Linked DNA regions of Homo sapiens: all the other regions are linked to region 4. The links are contacts of gene promoters, found by promoter capture Hi-C in human tissues and cell types (Jung and others, 2019). All regions are on one chromosome and are shown on one strand. Each heading gives the region's core, a stretch centred on a gene start or on the middle of the fragment in contact. The rest is flanking DNA. Distances are from core to core; before and after follow the strand shown. Region 1 overlaps ZC3H6 (zinc finger CCCH-type containing 6). Region 2 overlaps ZC3H6 (zinc finger CCCH-type containing 6). Region 3 overlaps ZC3H6 (zinc finger CCCH-type containing 6). Region 4 holds the start of MERTK (MER proto-oncogene, tyrosine kinase).

Region 1 (3,231 bases), core at 390-2,889, 400 kb after region 4:
ATTTTCCCCAGTTGTCTCAATCTAGATACTTAGATCTAGAGAAAAAATATTTTTAACTATTTTTTAAAATAACAGCTTTATTGAGATACATTTCACTTTTAAAGTGTACAGATCACTGGTTTTTAGTATATTCAGAGTAGTACAGTCATTACCACTATTTAATTTTAGAACATTTTCACCACTCCACAAAGTAACCCTTTACCCACTAGCATTCACTCCCTATTTTTCCCTCTAATCTACCTGGCAACTCCTAATCTACTTTGTATCTGTATAGATTTGCCTAAGATATAAAATCTTTTAAAATTATTGTTTATTAACTGAACAGTTATTTACCAGTCATTGGTACAAGAACATGAATATGCTCCTTTTTTAAAAAGGACATAATCAGTCTATTGTGTTTATATTAATAAAACGTCACATATATAATTAATTGACTGAGGAACTTATCTATTTGATGTATTACATTTTTTAAAGTCTTGTGTTTAGTAAACAAAACAGCTCTTATATAATAGTATTAAGCTAGTTCAAAATCTAGAGAATGATAAGAACTCTTAATTATTTCTATTACCTCTTCTAGGTATTTCCCAAGATCACTAGGTTAGTATCTGATACATTACTAGGTGTTCAATTAAGAAAGCTTTATTTTATTTTGGTGATAGAGCTGGAATTAGAATCCAGCTTTCCTCCCATGGAGTCTCCTTCTCTTTCCATTATACCACACATGCTTTCCACATGCGTCCAAAGCTGACATTTCAAAGGGTTTGGAAGCAGTTCATAGTGTGAATTATTTTTCTCTATTTCCTCTTTCTCTCGCATTTTTTGTAGCCATACAAAAATATACAAGTTTAAATCTGCTATTATATGAATGCTGAAATGATAAGTAGGCTAAGGGAAACTAAAAAAAATTTTAAAAGCTTGCAGTGTTTTATATCTCGTAACAAATATAAATGACCCACATTTCACACTTAAATAATGTATGTAAAGTAGGACATGAGTTTATGGGCATTTTTAGCATGTTTACTTTGTTTTTAAATAGCTCTAGTTAAAATGCTAAATATGAAGCAGTGATTTCCAGATGTAATTTTTTTTATGCTTTAAGGAGCTCACGTTGAAGGAGAGGCGCAGTAAAAGAAAGGATAAACACTTATAGATTTTTTTTGTCATTTGTGTTTTAAATTTTATTGTGGTATAAATGTAGATAGCAAAGTACACAATACTTAAATGTATAACTTGATGGGTTTTTACAAATGTGTATAATGTATATATAGTAATCACACAGATTAATATACAGAATATTTCAGTACCTCAGAAGTTTCCTTAATACCCCTTTTTTTGTCACTTGCACTCGTGCAAGAGGTAATCACTATTCTGACTTCTGTTATATATTGGTTTGTCTGTTTTCAAAGTGCATATACATGAAATCATACAGTACTGTCTTGTGTCTGGCTTCTTTCACTCCTCATTATGTCTATAAGATTCCTCTATATTGTTTTTTTGTAGCAGTTGTTAATTTTTTCTTTGTAGTATTCTATGATATAAATAAAGCATAATTTATATATCTATTTGCCTGTTGATAGAGATTTGTTATTTATAATTTTTTACTATTATGACTACAGCTGTCAAAAACATTCTTATACTTGTCTTTTGGTGAATATGTGCACTCATTTTCTCGGATTGTAAGGTTTTGTAGTTTATAAAAGTTCAAAACATTTTAATTGAAATAGCCAGAATGCCAAGACTGCCTCATAAGCAATTTTCAAGTCTAAGTGAATATTACCTCTCTGATTTTATAGTAGAAGCTGGGGAAAATTCCAGTGACTTTACAGCCACTTTAGGGTCGTATCATATGCCTCTTCTATGATGCAAGAGTTATGGGTATTATACATTCAGGGATTCAGTAAATAGCAAGGTGCCATGCTAGGTGCTAGAGATACCTCTGTAAAAGACAGTCATACACCCTGCTTTCACCAATGAACAAACAAGTCATTTGACATAATGTACAGAGTGCAATGATAAGAGAAATGAGAACTAGCAGAGGAGTACTTAGAATGAAGCATCTCACCTAAATCTGGGTAGTAATGGGAGACATCTTGTAGGAAATGACATCTAAACTGCATCCGAAATACTGAATTGGAATTAGCCAGGTGAAAGAGGTGTGGTGAGGCTGGTGACATGAGCTGGGCATTGAGAGATTTTAGGCACTTTTTAAGGCTTGTAGACTTGAGAAATTGAAAGTAGCTGGGTGAGCAGAGGGAACCATTGAAGATTATCTTTTTATTATAGAACACCTCAAAAAGAATAGAATGAATCCTCGTATACACATCCCAGTTTCAGCAGTTACCAACTCATGGCCAATCTTATTAAGACCACGTCCACTATCCGTAGTGGATTATTTTGAAGCAGATTTGAGATATATCATATCATATCATTGAAGATTTATGGCAGGAGAGTGACATGATCAGTTTTGTATTTAAGAAATTACACATACCTGGTAATTCTAAATTACCTTTAAAATGCCCACACCATAGTTTAGTTGTTTTTCATTTGCTGCCATTTATACATAGACAGTTACCTTTCTGCATGTACTATTTGTAGTAGTTTGCACTTTTTCAAACTATAGTGTTTTGGAAGTATGATTAAATGTTAAAATTGTTTTATGTATTCATCTTTCCATGTGTATCGGTTGGTTTATTTGCATTTTAAAATACTATTAATGAATATTTTGGTTTCTATCTATAAAATGTCATAATCAATATAAAAGTCAGTTTGTTTCTAGGATTCAGCCTCCATAATAGCAAAGATACTAGTATTTGGAAAGAAATTAGATTTATAGTTCTACTATGAATCTTTTTTACAGATTCAAGTTGAGGAATTGTTTTGTGGCTTGAGTTTTGTTACTATCTGTGTATGAAAATTTGGTTTTTTGTTTGTTTGTTTACTTAGTGTTTGTTGGTAAGAATTAATATTGACTGGCTGGGCACGGTGGCTTGCACCTGTAATCCCGGTATTTTGGGAGGCCAAGGCAGGCAGATCACTTGAGGTCAGGAGTTTGAGACCAGTCTGGCCAACGTGGTGAAACCCCCATCTCCGTAAAAATACAAAAATTAGTCGGATGTGATGGCGTGTGCCTGTAATCCCAGCTACTCGGAGGCTGAGGCACGAGAATCGCTTGAACCTGGGAGGTGGAGGTTGCAGTGAGCTGAGATCGTGCCACTGCACTGCAGTCTGGGT
Region 2 (2,971 bases), core at 367-2,866, 430 kb after region 4:
TGCCCCTCACTTACCCAGATCAAACCCTGGTTCATCACAGCCCTCAGGGGCAGGAACTAGCAATTCTGGTTCCGGGGCTCTGCCTCCATATGCCCCTAAACTCTCTTCCTCAGCTGGCCTTCCACTGGGAACTTCCACTTCAGTTCTTAGTGGTATTAGTTTGTATGACCCTAGGGATCACGGTTCATCATCCACATCAGAGCTAGCAACAGCTTCTTCAGGAGAAAACTCAAAGAACCAGAAAAAAAGTGGTGGCTTAAAAAGTAGTGACAAAACTGAACCTTCTCCTGGAGAAGCCATCCTTCCACAAAAACCCAGTCCAAACGTGGGAGTCACTCTTGAGGGGCCAGCTGACCCACAGGCGGACGTTCCCAGGAGTTCTGGTAAGGTTCAGGTCCCAGCAGTGCACAGCCTTCCTGTTCAGGCATTAACAGGCTTAATTAGGCCACAGTACAGTGATCCAAGGCAGGCAAGGCAGCCAGGACAGGGGAGCCCGACCCCAGATAATGATCCCGGTAGAGAAACAGATGACAAATCTCTGAAAGAGGTTTTTAAAACTTTTGATCCAACTGCTTCACCATTTTGTTAGCTATTGTGTAACTGAGCAATTCTTTTCACTCTTGTGACTATCTCAGTCCTCTGCTGTTTTGTAACTGGTTTACCTCTATAGTTTATTTATTTTTAAATTATAAACACTTTTCAGCTGCTAGTATCAGAACCACATGAAGTTATAGCCTCTAAAGCCTGTGGTATTTTATATAATATTTTTATAACTTTAAGAGACTGTAGTAATTGACCTAAAAACTTATGTTAGCTTCAGTAAAAGTACTTTTATTGTAAATAAACAATCATGAACTCAACACTCTGCCTGAATATATGCCAGTTGTCTTTCATAATCAATGTTTAGATAAATGATTGCCACTTTTTATATGGTTGTTTAGTTTCAAGCAATATGATGTACATTACTTTTGAGAAACAGTATTTTGACTAGGACCTCTCTTATTTGTCAGCACAGAACTGATTAATATGTAATGCTACCTGCTAATTAAAATGTAAAATCAAGTAAAGAAAACATTTTAAAATTACAATTAGCAGAGCAGTTCATGTTTAAGGGCATCACTTTTATTAGTATTGGCAATATTATTTGTGTAAATGAAGCATTTGAATGTCATATCTTTTTAAAGTATTTTATTGTATACTGTATCATAGAAGTTGGAGGTATATAAATAGAACATTTTGCTAAAGTGAAAAATTTCCAAGTTCTCTAGCATAACTTTTTACATTTAATTTTTCATATGAAATAGCAATTAGTTACTGCTGTGTTACATTGTGATGTTTATGTATGTCAATGTTTTTGTCTTTAACAGCATAATTTATATTGCTTTTTCAAATGATGTAGCTGCATTAATTGTGTTCATCATGACTTTGGCGATTTTTAACAAAATTTTTAAAGACCCAGTGAGAGTCTGTAGTGATTATTACACGGATAATGTTTTAAATGTCTAGGTTCTGTATTTTTTTCTTAAATAGCAAGAAAATACAGATTGCTAGTATAGTCAACAGTATTTGGCTATCAATAAAGAATCTCTTTAAGATCTCACCCGGCTGGCATTCTGTAACAGAGGGGATTACCTGGTGTTTTAAGTATTTAATGTCCTCATAGTGTGGAAATCCCCTAAATTGATTAGAAATTGTATTTTATGAAAAATAACTTGTATTCATTCTTGTGTATTTATTACAATATATAAATAATGGCAACTCTTTGTTTTATACATATATAATTTATAACTGAATCTAAGTATTAGACTGCTACTCATATTTTGAACTGCAGGTGTAGGACAGTGTTTGCTGGTAACAACTCCAATGTGTATTAATAACTTGAAAAGGAGCATTTCACTATAAAAGATAATGAAGTAGGTAATGAAATCAGTCCTTGAATGAAAGCAGTGCCCTTGAGAAGGGATTTTTTTTTAAATATACAGTAAAATATTTCGTGGGAACCTAACACTCACATAGCATATGGTTTATTAATAATGCATATCCTTTCTAATCACTTCTTCAATTCTTTTTGCTGCAGTTCTGTGCTAAAATGGGGTTGTGGTTAAGTGAACGAGAACTCTGCCTACCTAAGAAGTTCATTGTGTTCTAAGTGGAAGGAGAGTTACTGAAGGGAATGTGAATTTTTACCGTTTGTACTTAAGATACATTTGTTGTCTAAAATGGCTCTGGATAACATTTTTGGGTTAAAAAATGTAATTTAAAGCCACCATAGAAAGTATTTTCTGATTTACTGTCCAAATGAATTTTGTTGTTAATTGAGAAGTCAATAAAATGGATTAAACTGACAGAAAAAAAACATATATATATATCCCAAGGTGTAATTTACTCTTTTGTCAGGATAAAATCAGAAAAATGGCTGATTTTAGTAAATGAAATTTTTAGCAAATCTTTCATTCATGTAGTTTATAATTATTGTGTCAAGCAGTGCTGTTTACATTTTAAGCATCATACAAAAAAGATAATTTGGCTTGCTAAACATCAAAATAGAATCCAAACTCTTAACCGAATATCTTTTTTACAACTAAAAGAGATATTCCAAGATTTATTAAAGAGTCAGGTTTAAAAGTTATTAATGCAAATTATGTAATGTTCATTTATTCAGTATTCTTGAGTCCCTGTTACCTCAATTGGTGTTCTAGAGGCTATTTTACAAGAAAGTTTGAACTTAGTTTCAAATTTGACAATATATTTTATATGAAAATGTTTATGTTTAAAATAACTTATTTATTATGCAGCATTTTTATTGTGATAACGTTAGTTTATGGGATATTCTGTCATATCCTGTAAACATAGTTTATTTTTCTTCTTTTTTCCCATTTTCTCATACAAATTGAATAAGTAGCCATTTTCCCCCAATGAATACCTCTTCTTTTAGGTCAATTGGTGTTTTTAGAATCCATGTAATTTGATT
Region 3 (3,412 bases), core at 337-2,836, 420 kb after region 4:
TTTCCTCTACCTGATATATATTAATATTTTATGCTCTTGTCTCTTGTATCAATATATCTTCTAAAGTAAATAAGTTTTAAAATGACCAAGTACAGTAGGTAGCTTGGTTTTTTTTCTCCCTCCATCTCTCCCTCTTTCTCTCCTTCATTCTTGTATTTTTTTTTATTCGCAGTACTGTCTTGTAATGCAAAGAATATAGGAGGAGTTGCAAGGCACAATTCCTGAGTTCTGTCAGTCTGCTAACTCACCATATCTTCTGGGCACTTAATTTTGCCCTAAAAATTTATTTGTTAAAGTTGCTTTAGATTTTCTATAGTACCTTGATTATAGTCAGGTTTCCCATAGCTGTGGACACTGACATACTTTCTACTCATTTAAGTGGAACTAAACTAAAAAACAAAACAAAACACTTCCTCACCACAATCCTCTATTAAAACAATGAAACATTATTTGGAAGTAATGTATACAGAAAGAGTAAGTTATTAATGAAACGCTAAGTACAACTTGTTGCATTTTTCAGGGTGTGTGTGTGTGTGTGATTACCTAATTTTTTTACTTTTTAATTTCAGAGTTATATTCCTCAGGTTGCTCATTGATTTTTGCATAATTTACTTTCTTTGGCTGTTTATTTTATTTTATAACAGCCATGATTCTTTGTATAGAATGCCTATGTGAGCTGGTCATTTATATCTGCTTATTCTAAACGAATCTCTAAACATAAAAATGTTTGTGAATCAAATTTATATAGATTTGAGACACTTTAAATGATTCTGTCATAGTATATTATAAGCAATTTCATTGTGTTTTCCTGGGGTAAATTAGGTATGTTTATATTTTTAAAACGAATCTCTAGGATTATCTGTTTACTTTGTATTCTTGTACCTTTTTTAGAATTCTTACAGTAAAATGTGATTTGAGCTGTGAATGCTGGGGATCAGATTTCAATTTAGACATCTATTGCCTCAATGTTTGCTGTGAGGCAATCTCTTGTTTTCAGTAGATTGAACTTTATGCTCTATCTTTTAGCAAATTAAGAGAAAAGGGAAAACAGAAATCAAATCAGAAGAGTAAATAGTCATTGAACTCCTATGATATACAGGGCACAGTGCATGCCAGGTGCATGAAAAATAATGTTGTTTTTTAGAGTTGATGAATGTAACTCATTACATTTAGCATGGCTAAGCATCATACTCTGCCTTGTTACTTAATCTTATACTTAAAGCAGAAGTTGAATAGGGGACTCAGGAGAAGTAAGGAAAACAAGTAGGGCTATAAGATTTCTTTTCCTTTAATTTTCTTAAGTTTTTTTCTTAACTTTTTATATTTAAAAGTTAAAAGTAATACACGCCGCCTGTTTGTTTGCCCTTTTTTTCCCCTAAAGAAAGTACAAAATAACCACACACATAAAATCTCTAATCCTGCCATCCAGAGACATACACTGTAAAATATGGGGGTATATTCTTTTTGTCTTTTTTCCTTTGCCTTTATTTATTATTGTAGAATTGGGATCAATTTTTTACTTCATAAAATATTGTAAACTTTTTTTTTGTTTTTTTTTTGTTTGTTTGTTTGAGACACTCTCACTCTGTTGCCCAGGCAGGAATGCAGTGGCGTGATCTTGGCTCTCACTGCAGGCTCCACCTCCCAGGTTCAAGCGATTCTCGTGCCTCAGCCTCCCAAGTAGCTGAGATTACAGAGGTGTGTGCCACCACACCTGGCTAATTTTTTGTATTTTTAGTATGGACAGGATTTCACTATGTTGGCCAGGCTGGTCTCAAACTCCTGGCCTCAAATGATCCCAAAGTGCTGGGATTACAGGCATGAGCCACCATGCCTGATCTGTAAACAGTTTTTATGATCCAAAGTTGTTGATTTTTTAATGACTGCATAATATTCTACCACCTAAGTGTATCATAATATATTTGACCAGTCTTCTAGTTTTAAATGTGTAGAGTGTTTCTCGTTTTGCTGTTTGTTTTACTATGTCAGTATTTTATTATATGACTAGATCTTTGTGTCTCCCTGATAATTCTTTCAAAATAATCCCAAAAAGTACAAGTTGTATGTCAAACAATATGGATATTTTAAAGTCTTTTATAACATACCTATCAATAATATGAGTGCATATTTTATTGTGTCTTTGCCCAAATTGAGAATTGTGAATTTTTAAACTTTTTATAATTTTATTTAAAAAGTTATTCATCTTCATTAAAATAGAAAGAAATAGGCTTTTTTTTGCGATCACTAGTAGCATAAGTAGATTACTAGACACATATCTCTCTCCAAATAAATGAATAGCATCAGAATGTTCAATCTTGATCACTTTTTGTAGTCAATTTGTACTTTTTTCCAGATCAACTTAATCATACATTTTGATACCTATTAATATTTCATATGCTGCATTCAAATGGAATTTTTTTCTTGCAGTATAATAAACCAGGGAAAAAATGGAAGGTTATGACTCAGGAATTTATTAATCAGCACACAGTGGAACACAAAGGAAAACAAATCTGTAAATACTTCCTGGAAGGGAGGTGTATTAAGGTAAATTTATAGAGGTATCATAAGTCATTTTAACTTCCAAAATAATCTTTAAAATTAAAGTCTTTTGGGGGATGGTTAATTTTTTTCTCTTCTCATATAGTTGTAATAAAACTGGGTCTTTAAAATGTATCTTGCATGGAAATACCGTACATTAGAGCTCATTTAATTATGTTCTGGGACAATAACATAATTTGTTGAAATCGGATTTGTTTAAAAGACACATAATGCTACGTGGCAAGTACTGTTCAAAGTACAACTAATATTAAATGATTTAATCCTACAGTGACCCTACAAAGTAGTTAATGTTATTATCCCCATTTTATTCATGGCACCAAGAGGTTAAGTAAGTTCCCATGGTAGCTCAGCAAGAAATGGTGAGTGCTGGTTGCCAATTCAGGCAGTATCCTGTGAGGTCTTGCTCACTGTGCTGCCTTAATGCATGTAGCTACATCCACTGTCTTGGGCAGGAATTCTAAGGGGTCATTTGAGTTATTATTTGTTCATTATTAAAGACTGAAGATAATGACCATAATTTTACCATGAGACACCATGTAGAAAATTCAGCTGTTGTTTCTTTGTTTCTCATTGTTTCTTACCTTTTTTTCTTTTTTCTTTTTTTTTTTTTTGTGAATAGGGAGATCAGTGTAAATTTGATCATGATGCAGAGTTGGAGAAAAGAAAAGAGATCTGCAAATTTTATTTACAAGGATATTGTACCAAAGGAGAGAACTGCATTTATATGCATAATATCCTTTATTTAAAATGTATGTTAAATAAAATGCTGGGGTTTTAAAGCATCATTGAGGTTTTAAAAAATAATAAATACACCCTATAAAGCCTAGTTTGGTTTTAAATTTAAAACAACACA
Region 4 (3,120 bases), core at 1-2,500:
TTGCTGTCGGTGTAAGTAATAACCTGTCTAAACCCATCTGGGCTGCCTGTCTCCTTCCCGTAGCCAAATCTACGGGAAGTGTCCAGCCAGTGTAGGGGTCAAGGGACCGCTTGACGAGACCAACGTAAATTGAAGAGGCGTAAGGAGATGAGGCCAAAGAGGAAAGGGGACCAGGTCACGTAGAACCTCGTAGACCACTGCAGAACCTTGGCTTACGTACGCAGAGACAGCAGGAACCACTGATAGGTTTAGGGAGATTTGAGGAGAGGGACATGATTTGGCTTATGTTATGTTGTTAAAGGGACCACATTAAAATACATTCATTCTAAAAGTGTTACCTTTAAGAAACTACGTATATAAATTAAGTTACTGTTGCCATTATTAGCGTAAGTAGTTACATTTCTCTTACGACTCACTCTCTGCTACTGCCTCTTGGACCCTGCACACCTTGTGGAGGCCCATGAGAGTGACGTGCTGTGGTTCCCCCTCTCCCCACTCCTGCTCTGCACTTTGTCATTCACGTTCATCTCCCTCCTTGAGTGTCACCTCTCTCTGGCTCGTCACGGAGCCACGGCAAAGCGTCCTTTCCCAGGAACCCCTCCCCCTGGGGAGGTGAGCTCCTCGCCGCCAGGGCCGTGTCGCGCACCTCGGGCCGGGTACCCAGGCGGCGCTCGGCGGCGAGCGGAATGGATGTGGAGGAGCGCTCGGCAGGGAGCGCTGCCGCCCTGGCCTTGGCCTCTGGGAGCGGCGCGGCCAGGGTTTTCTGTGTCAGCCAAGCCCGGAATGCGGGGGCGCCTCTGGACCCTCCTCTTGGGTCTGGGGGCTGCCTCGGGCATCCTCTACTCCTCTCCCACCTTCTGTCCTTCCCCATCTCCCACCCACACGTGTGGGGCCCCGGACCCGCGCAGCGGCCAGAGCCTTCCGCTGTGGACCTCCAGTCCACCCCTCCCCTTCACTTCTCTTTCCGGCTCCCTCCGGGTCTCTCAGCCCCCTCCCCTTCCTCTCCGCCCCCTTCCCCGCCGTCTGCCCAGCGGCGGCCTTCGGCCCGCCCCTTCTCTCCAACCCCCTCCCTTTCCCCTTTACGCCCCTCCTCCCCCTCGTCCTCCCGCCCCCTCCCACCCCAACCTGCTGGGCCCGCCGGGACTCGCCCCCCTGCCCGCTCCTCTCCTCCAGCCCCGGCCGGCCTCGGCTCGGCCCCCGGCCCGCCCCTTCCAGCCCTCGGCACCTCCCGCCGGCCGCTTGGCTCCGCCACTCGGCACTCACTGCCCGGGCCGCCCGGACAGGGAGCTTCGCTGGCGCGCTTGGCCGGCGACAGGACAGGTTCGGGACGTCCATCTGTCCATCCGTCCGGAGAGAAATTACAGATCCGCAGCCCCGGGATGGGGCCGGCCCCGCTGCCGCTGCTGCTGGGCCTCTTCCTCCCCGCGCTCTGGCGTAGAGGTGAGTGCGCCCGGCTGGGGGCCAGGCGAGGGGGTGGGGGCTCCCAGGAGGAAGCAGGGGCCTCTGGGGAGGGAGCGCGTCCACAGGGGCGCGCCTGGCTGCTGGACAAGTTTGCAAACACCCTCCACCCACTGCGGTGCCAGAGGAGGGGGCGTAGGCGAACCTACCGTCCACTGACCGCGGCGCCTCAAGCGTCCCGAGGGCACCCAGCCTGGCTTGCGGGTGCGCATCGTGGTGAAGCCGGGTCGGGGTCGGCGTTGCAGGCTCCCCTCTTCACCGCAGAGGAGGAAATCGAGCTCGGCCGGGCGCGCTGCAAGTCCTGAAGTTCCGACGAGTGGAACGTAGGTAGCAGGTCTGGTCTGGGATGCGACGAGAACTTTCCACTAGAGTTGCATGGTGGGGCCCCGCTCTGGCCGGAGTCCCGGGGGCCACAGATCCGGTCTCCCGAGGGACCGGCGCGGGGCGAACGAACGGGCTGCGGGAGTCGGAGCCGCAGTCCGGGAGCCGCGATAGACTGAGGCCGAGCGACGGGCCAGGGGGGGACGGCAGTCCTGGCTGCTCCCAATGGGCCCTTACGGGCATTATTAGTATCCCTTTTTAGGGGCACCCAGAGAGTGTGGGAAAAGGGGAGCGTTCTTTTCACTCCTGTTATGGCAGAACAGAACTTACAGTGCTCGGCAGCGTTTACGTTTATCTGGATTCAGCGAAGTGTTGTTACAGGCTTTTTTTTTTTTAATTTGAGACCGAGTCTCGCCCTGTCGCCCAGGCTGGAGTGCCGCGGCGCGATCTCGGCTCACTGCAGGCTCCGCCTCCCGGGTTCAAGCGATTCTCCTGCCTCAGCCTCCCGAGTAGCTGAGACTATAGACGCGCGCTACCACGTCCGGCTAATTTTTGTATTTTTAGTAGAGACGGGGTTTCACCATGTTGGCCAGGATGGTCTCGATCTCTTGACCTCGTGATCTGCTCTCCTTGGCCTCCCAAAGTTCTGGGATTACAGTCGTGAGCCACCGCGCCCGGCTTGTTCCAGGCATTTTAATACAAGATGCTGGACTGATACGTGGAGGCAAGGAAGGCCGGTTTCATTCTGCTTGAACAGCTTATTTGGGGAGTGAGTGATGAACAGATTTCAAGTTTGATCGCTGATGCACTTCTTGAGGAGGCTGGAATAAACTTACCAGGCTTTACCCAAAAGAAAAAGAAAGGGGAAAAATGCTAAATAAACACATTCCAAGTATTTTCTCTCAGCTAAAAGGTTTCTATTTCCATTCAGCATGTAGATTTTCTCTCTTTTGATCGAGAATGCACTTGACTAGCCTTCACCTATTACAGTCAAAGATGTTTTTTAGGAATACCTGGAAAGCTCAGTTTATAGTCAAGTAAGTTACTTAAAAGTTTTTCCTTTGAGATTTTCCTTTGAAAGCTCATTTACTCAAATGAAAAATTCTTAAACAGTGCACCCACTTTTTGCACGTTAAATTACATAAGCAATTTATAATTTGGGGCAACATAGCAATTTGAAACAAACTTTAAGAGCCAGGCAAAGAACTAAAGCAGTTCTGTTCTCCACTGCCCCTCCCTCCACCAAACCTTCAAAAATTCCTCAGCATTTCTGCCAGCCCCATTTTTCATAATCTGCTGCAAATCTGTTATTTGTTGCTACTAGTGAGGACTGGCCGTGAA

The links. The method cuts DNA at HindIII sites, captures the fragments that hold promoters and counts their contacts. A contact is called where the count stands out against the background at its distance.
Region 1: a contact is called between a fragment that was not itself captured here and the fragment with the promoter of MERTK in region 4, in 2 of the 25 tissues and cell types used here (aorta and dorsolateral prefrontal cortex).
Region 2: a contact is called between a fragment that was not itself captured here and the fragment with the promoter of MERTK in region 4, in 1 of the 25 tissues and cell types used here (lymphoblastoid cells).
Region 3: a contact is called between a fragment that was not itself captured here and the fragment with the promoter of MERTK in region 4, in 1 of the 25 tissues and cell types used here (liver).

The regions. Positions count from the first base shown.
Region 1 is chr2:112,294,862-112,298,092 of GRCh38, forward strand. The region is part of intron 1 of ZC3H6 (zinc finger CCCH-type containing 6); the gene reads left to right. Among named protein-coding and RNA genes, the nearest start is that of ZC3H6, 21 kb to the left of the region's middle. The HindIII fragment of the contact is 3,332 bases long and covers 1-3,231 here.
Region 2 is chr2:112,331,900-112,334,870 of GRCh38, forward strand. ZC3H6 (zinc finger CCCH-type containing 6) reads left to right here. Exons shown (of 12, transcript NM_198581.3): 12 at 1-2,971. The coding sequence ends at 589. Among named protein-coding and RNA genes, the nearest start is that of ZC3H6, 58 kb to the left of the region's middle. The HindIII fragment of the contact is 5,053 bases long and covers 1-2,971 here.
Region 3 is chr2:112,314,043-112,317,454 of GRCh38, forward strand. It overlaps ZC3H6 (zinc finger CCCH-type containing 6), which reads left to right. Exons shown (of 12, transcript NM_198581.3): 6 at 2,428-2,544; 7 at 3,179-3,290. Among named protein-coding and RNA genes, the nearest start is that of ZC3H6, 40 kb to the left of the region's middle. The HindIII fragment of the contact is 4,981 bases long and covers 1-3,412 here.
Region 4 is chr2:111,897,357-111,900,476 of GRCh38, forward strand. It overlaps MERTK (MER proto-oncogene, tyrosine kinase), which reads left to right and starts at 1,251. Exons shown (of 19, transcript NM_006343.3): 1 at 1,251-1,440. The coding sequence starts at 1,380. RefSeq lists an enhancer at 390-719. The HindIII fragment of the contact is 10,682 bases long and covers 1-3,120 here.